Linked DNA regions of Homo sapiens: region 1 is linked to region 2. Evidence: promoter capture Hi-C in 16 types of primary human blood cells and fetal thymus (Javierre and others, 2016). All regions are on one chromosome and are shown on one strand. The core of a region is centred on a gene start or on the middle of the fragment in contact, and the rest is flanking DNA. Distances in the headings are between cores, read along the strand shown.

Region 1 (3,293 bases), core at 748-3,247, 220 kb before region 2:
CATATTTTTGAAAGTTCCAGGTAGGAAGTTCTAGGACTCTGGAAACAATCAAGTGTACTCAGCTTCATGTTGCCTCTTCACTACAGTTTCTTTTCTTTTCTCTTTTTTTTTTTTTTTTTTTGAGACGGAGTCTCTGTGATCCAGGCTGGAGTGCAGTGGCACAATCTTAGCTCACTGCAGCCTCCATGTCTCAGGTTCAAGCAATGCTCCTGCCTCAGCCTCCTGAGTTGCTGGGACTACAGGTGCATGCCACCATGCCCAGCTTTTTTTTTTTTTTTTTTTTCAGTAGAGACGGGGTTTCACCATGTTGACCAGTCTGGTCTCGAACACCTGATCTTTGGTGAGCCGCCCTCCTTGGCCTCCCAAAGTGCTGGGATTACAGGCATGAATCACCGTGCCTGGCCGCTTTTCTTTTTTTTTTTTTTCTTTTGAGACAGGGTCTTGCTCTGCCACCCAGGCTGGAGTGCAGTGGCACAATCTTGGCTCACTGCAACCTCTGCCTCCTAGACTCAAGCGATCCTCCCACCTGAGCCTCCTGAGTAGCTGGGACTACAGGTGAGAGCCACACAACAGATTCAAGTCCAACCAAAACACAGAGAAATCGAACCACTCCACTGAAGTAACTATTGTAGTCAAAAATATGATGTTTTTGGCCAGCCATGGTGGCCCACACCTGTAAACCCACCACTATGGGAGTCTGAGGCAGAAGGATCAATTGAGCCCAGAAGTTTGAGACCGGCCTGGGCAACACGGCGAAACCCTGTCTCTACAAAAAAATACAAAATTAGCCAGACGTGGTGATGCATGCCTATAGTCCCAGCTACTTGGGAGCCTGAGGGGAGGATCGCTTGAGTCCAGGAGGTTGAGGCTGCAGTGAGCCATGATGGAGCCACTGCATTCCAGCCTGGGTGACAAGTGAGACCCTGTATCAAAAAAAAAAAAAAAAAAAAATCAGTGTTGTCACCCAAAATATAACGTAAAAACCATAGCAATATTACTCTAATTCCTTGTCTTAGTAGGCAAAATATAAACATGTAAATATTTAAAAATAAAACTGTTGCATTAGGCTGCAAGCTCTCTTAAATCTTCTACATCTGAGATTGGCAAACTATGGCTTACAGGCCAAATTTGGACTGCTGCCTGTTGTAAATAAAGTTTTATTAGAACGCAGCCATATCCATTAGTTTATGTATTGGCTAAGACTGCTTTGTGACTACAAAGGCAGATCTGAATAGTTGTGATGGAGACTGAATGGACCTCAAAGCCTAAAATACTTACTATTTGGGCTGGGCATCATAGCTCATACCTGTAATCTCAGCACTTTCGGAGGCCAAGGCAAGTGGATCACCCGAGGTCAGGAGATCAAGACCAGCCTGGCCAACATGGTGAAACCCCGTCTCTACTAAAAAGACAAAAATTAGCTGGGCGTGGTGGTGGGCACCTGTAATCCCAGCTATTCAGAAGGCTGAGGCAGGAGAATCGCTTGAACCCAGAAGGTGGAGGTTGCAGTGAGCTGAGAACGTACCACTATACTCCAGCTGGGGAGACAGACTGGGACTGTGTCTCAAAAAACAAAGAAAAAAGAAATAAAGTAAATACAATCTGACACTTTTTATAGGAAAAGTTTTATTTATCTTTTTAAATTTTTATTTTTTTATTTTTATTTTATTTTATGTATTTTTTTTTTTTGAGACAGTCTCACTCTGTTGCCCAGGCTGGAGTGCAGTGGCACAATCTCAGCTCACTGCAACCTCCGCCTCCCGGGTTCAAGTAGTTCTCCCTGCCTCAGCCTCCCGAGTAGCTGGGATTACAGGGGCCCACCACCATGCCCAGCTAATCACCTGACCTCAGGTGATTCACCTGCCTTAGCCTCCCAAAGTGCTGGGATTACAGGCGTGAGCCACGGCACCCAGCCTATTTATTTATTTATTTATTTATTTATTTATTTATTTATTTTTAAGACAGGGTCTTGCTCTGTCATCCAGGCTAGAGTGCAACGGCACCATCATGGCTCACTGCAGCCTTGACCTCCTGGGCTCAAGTAGTCTTCCTGCCTCAGCCTCCCAAGTGGCTGGAACTACAGGCATGCACCACCACATCCAGCTAATTTTTAAAATTTTTTGTAAGATGAAGATGAAGAGATGAAGTCTTCCTGAGTTGCCCAGGCTCTTCTCGAACTCCTGGGCTCAAACAATCCTCCCGCCTCAGCCTCCTAAACTGCTGGGATTACAGGTGTGAGCCACGGCACCCAGCCTATTTATCTTTACTTTGCATATATTAGGTGCTCAATAAATGTTTCATGATTTATTGAAAGAATATATCAGAGCTTTCCAGTTGGACATGAAAAATTAACAAACTAGCTCTTTATATAAATTTCTAGGCACAATAGTCAATTTTAACAAATCGTAACACAAAGCATTTTGCAGTTCCCCAGTTTACCTGGTATTTGCTTGTTGCCTTGTCATTTGTTATTCAGAAGAAGACCACATGCCTTGAAAAAATCATATTAGTGCTTTAGCGTTCCAGATTGCAAAATGCTCTGTATTCATGTTTTCAAAGAGTTGGCCTTTGAGCTAAATATGTCTCATTGATATGTTTTATTTGGCTCAGAGTACTGTTGTTTGTTTTTAAGCAACATTAGCCGCCAACATTTAAAAATAAGGTGACTTCACATAATAATCCAAGTTTCCAGCTTCTCCTGAAAATGTGAAAGATCTAGCAATGTGGGTACACGGTTTGGTTAGGCCCATAATCACCTGGGACTGGTTGTTTCTGCTTCCTTAGATGGAGTGAGTACTCTCCTGTTTACCACAGTCCCCACCACTCCCAACAGCCTTACCTCTGGCTGCCTCCATCCAAGTACGATATCTGCGTGGCCTTTCTATAGACATTTGTATTTCGGATCCTTAGTCTAGGGGAGTATCATTTGCTACAAAGGCCCCTGAACTGCAACAGTAGCTGAAAACCACACATTTGCTTCATTTTCCAGGCTTGAAAACAGATTTGTGCATCTAAAGACAAAACAGGAAAGAATGACAATGCTATTAAGATGATGACTTTCATTCCAGCTAAAAGGCAACTTCATCCTCCCACCCCCTCTTTCCTTTTTCAAACAAGCCAGAGGACTTCACCCTCTTTCCTTTCCGCTATTCAGCTCCTTCCACCCACTCCATCTCCTGGTGTTGTTTACCTCAAACCCTGGGGTGCTGTCTCTCCCCAGTTCCCTGCTTCCTTGCTGACCTTAAAAACAACCTTGGTCATTTTTGTTTTTAGAGTTTTACTGCTAATCGCTG
Region 2 (3,581 bases), core at 197-2,696:
ATTAGAACTATGCTTAACTAATAAAATTATATAGAAGAATGATAATGTACTTCCGTATTTATATTTCAAAACCTTTTTCCTTGGCCAATACTTGTTAGTAAAGTGATTATGGTACTACACCAAGTTTTAGACTGTAAACTCCTAGAAATTATCATTTCAAGTGTGTATTAAATTTCAAGCAAATTTTAAACCGGTTTAAGATTCAGCCTTAAAGAACAGTTAAAATTGATTGAAAATAATCCAATTTCACCGCACTTTATACATCATAGTTGAAATGCAATGAAGACACATTATTACACAATAATGAAGAAGCAAAGATTTGGCCTGTTATCTGGGAAATTAGAGGGTGGACTACCTGGGCTCCTTTTAGCAAAACACTTTTCCAAAAGAAACTTATTTTTGTTTTCTTTAAACAATACTGTCCTGTCCTAAACGAAATCATTTTTAGTCTGTTGAAAATCCACGTGTCTTTGCGTGTTTATTTATTTATTTATTTATTTATTTATTTATTGCAGTGTTCAAAAAAAAAAAAAAAAAGATGCAAGGTTTCCAGCCCTGAGGACCAGGACGCTGTAGCTCCTGTCTCAGTTCAGCCCTAGCTCTAATTGTGACCTTGGGAAATGTCCCTGGCTCGGGGGACTCGGTTTCCCTCTCTTCTCAATTATGAGTGCTCGGAACGTGGGGGTGGGACGGGCCCCCAGCACCGCAGACAAGGGGTTACAGCTCGTCCAGCTTCATGCAAATCCCCAGCCCTCCTCGTCGCCTCGGCTCTTCCCATCCACTCAGCCACTAGCTCGCTCGGAGCAGTGTGCTCCCGGTGCCCCCCGCGGGGTACCCTCGGTTCTGCACGGCGCTCCCCCTTTGTGTCTTGCTGCTAGGAAGGGACCTTGCGATCATCCTTCCATCCGCCGAGAAACGCTCCACCTACCCTTCATTCTCGACCGTGTCTTTCCCGTTTCAGAGAACCCCTCACACTGCTGCCCTCGAGAGACCCCCGCCGTGGCTCTGACCGGGAATCCCTCTCCTTCCCTCCCCTCAGGAGACCTTCCCTTCACACAGCCTTCACCTCCGGAAGAGCCCTCAATTCACACAACCCCATTCTTCCTCAAACTCTCAGGGATTGGCACCCGGCTGCCTTTTGCGGAGCCGCAAAGGACCCTCAGCCTCCCCCACCTCCGTCATCGGGTTCTGGGGACCCCTCTCACCTCCGCGGTGAGAGATGTGTTTACTGAGGAATCGCTGCTTCTTTCTCTGGTGCAGCAAGGTCGGGTATTTAAGCAACAAGAATGAGGTCACCAAGTATCCTCCTAGCGTAGAGAGAAGGTAAAAAGCCGCAGTGGACGACATCTCAGTCACCGTGTGGGAAGTCTCCCACCTCCGGGCCCTCTGAACTCCGCTGCGGCAGTAGCAACGACGGCGGCGGCGGCGGCTGCTCGAGGTCGGCTCGCCCCCAGCCGGTGCCACTGGTGCAGCGCACTTGTCGGTGCCGGCCTACTGCGCACGCGCAGCTGGACCCCAGCGCCCCAGCAACAAAGAGGCTCCGACGCGCAGGCGCTCTCCGGCTCCCGTGTAGGAACCTGCAGAGATCCTGGACTGAGCGTTTGTCACCTAGCTCTGTGGACGGACCCTCATGAAGAGAAAGCTTGCAAACCTGCCAGTGTGTTGGCCATCACTCAAGCAGAAAAGACTATTCACGGGCAGCCTTTCCTAATTGGAAAATCCACATCAAAAAGGAAAGATTCCAGGGCGCGTCTTATCCCTTGCTCTAGAAAATGCAAATAATTTGTACCTATGGAGGCGATAAAGCTTGCTAAAACACTAAATAAACTCCTCCGTTTATCTAGCCTAGAGAGAATTTCCCCTATGGTCGCATATACTAGAAAAGGTACTGGTTTATCAGTCAAATATCTGAGAGATCGGCCCCTGTCCTCCCTCATTTCATTGTGAAAGTGCAATCCTCATTCTTTGTACACAATAGGCACTGTAGAAGTATTTGTTGACTTACAAGTCCGTATAAAATAAGGAAACTTTGTTAAGGTTATAAGGTATTACCTAAAAGTCCTAGAAAGACAGATAACTAAGTTCCAGAAGGCCCTACTAGTTTTCCTTTTACCCGACAAATTACAAACTGCTAACACACGAAAAGCCACACACTTCAATGCAAAAGAAATAAATCACCCAGGACTGAGGGAGAAATTTTACGGAGAAGACCATATCTCCCACAGGACTAGAAAAGCAGAGTGAATATTTAAAATCCTGATTCAGCCGGGCGCGGTGGCCCACGCCTGTAATCCCAGCACTTAGGGAGGCCGGGAAGGAAGGGTGGATCGCTTGAGCCCGGGAGTTCGAGACCAGCCTGGGCAACATGGCGAAACCCCATCTCTACAAAAAATAAAACAAAATAAGCCCGGCGTGGTGGCGTGCACCTGTAGTCACGCTACTTGGGAGGCTGAAGTGGGAGTATTGCTTGAGCCTGGAAAATCGAGGCTGCAGTGAGCTATGACTGCACCACTGCACCCCAGCCTGGGCGACAGAGCAAGACCCTATCTCAACTATAAAAAGAAAATTAGAAGAAAATAGGGGGTGGCTGGGCACGGTGGCTCAAGCCTGTAATCCCAGCACTTTGGGAGGCTGAGGCGGGCAGATCATTTGAAGTCAGGAGCCTGGCCAACATGGCGAAATTCCATCTCTACTAAAAATACAAAAATTTGCCAGGGGTGGTGGCGTGTGCCTGTGATCCCAGCTACTCAGGAGGCCGAGGCAGGAGAATCTCTTGGACCCGGGAGGCAGAGGTTGCAATGAGCCGAGAAGGCGCCACTGCACTCCAGCCTGGGTGACAGAGCGAGACTCCGTCTCAAAAAAAAAAAAAAAAAAAAAAAAAAAAAAAAAAAAAAAAATTCCTTTAGTCGAGGTTGAAGTGAGCCTTGATGGTGCCACTGCACTCCAGCCTGGGCAACAGAGCAACATTCTGAGGAAACTTACAGGTTAAAAAATCATGTGTTCTGTTTAGGGCTGTTAAACTATTTCCTGTAGATCAACTGACGCACATAGTTCTATTTTTCAAAATATCACCTGATGACTATGGAAGCGTCTAGAATAAACCACTGTGGCATAAAAATTATTTTGAGGCTGGGCATGGTGGCTCACGCCTGTAATCCCAGCACTTTGGGAGGCTGAGACAGGCAGATCACCTGAGGTCGGGAGTTCGAGACTAGCCTGGCCATCATGGTGAAACCCCGTATCTACTAAAAATACAAAAATAAGCCAGGCATAGTGGTGCATGCCTGTAGTCCCAGCTACTAGGGAGGCTGAGGCAGGAGAATGGCTTGAACCTGGGAGGCGGAGCTTGCAGTGAGCCAAGATCATGCCACGGCACCCCAGCCTGGGCGACAGAGCAAGACTCTGTCTCTTAAAAAATATATATATATTGAGCTGAAGGCATTTAAGTTCCTGGAATCCCTTATCAACCTAAAATCAAAGGCTCCCAGAAGAACTTAACTGTCATAAATCTCCTCCCTGGGAACAATTCTAATCCTGTCAGAGATGAGAGACATTGTCACAAAAGTATGACATCTCATGGG

The links. Contacts are between HindIII fragments. The CHiCAGO score rates a contact against its expected background, and 5 or more counts as called.
Region 1: a contact is called between a fragment that was not itself captured here and the fragment with the promoter of GDPD1 in region 2, in 1 of 17 cell types (megakaryocytes). The highest score is 7.4, in megakaryocytes.

What each region holds. Positions count from the first base shown.
Region 1 is chr17:59,441,183-59,444,475 of GRCh38, reverse strand. The region is part of intron 2 of LINC01476 (long intergenic non-protein coding RNA 1476); the gene reads left to right. It overlaps LOC124904040 (a long non-coding RNA gene), which reads right to left. Exons shown (of 3, transcript XR_007065867.1): 2 at 2,840-3,011. Among named protein-coding and RNA genes, the nearest start is that of MIR4729, 77 kb to the right of the region's middle. RefSeq lists a silencer at 1,367-1,572. The HindIII fragment of the contact is 5,021 bases long and covers 1-3,293 here.
Region 2 is chr17:59,218,376-59,221,956 of GRCh38, reverse strand. It overlaps GDPD1 (glycerophosphodiester phosphodiesterase domain containing 1), which reads right to left and starts at 1,446. Exons shown (of 10, transcript NM_182569.4): 1 at 1,206-1,446. The coding sequence starts at 1,347. RefSeq lists an enhancer at 870-1,420. The HindIII fragment of the contact is 5,185 bases long and covers 1-1,644 here.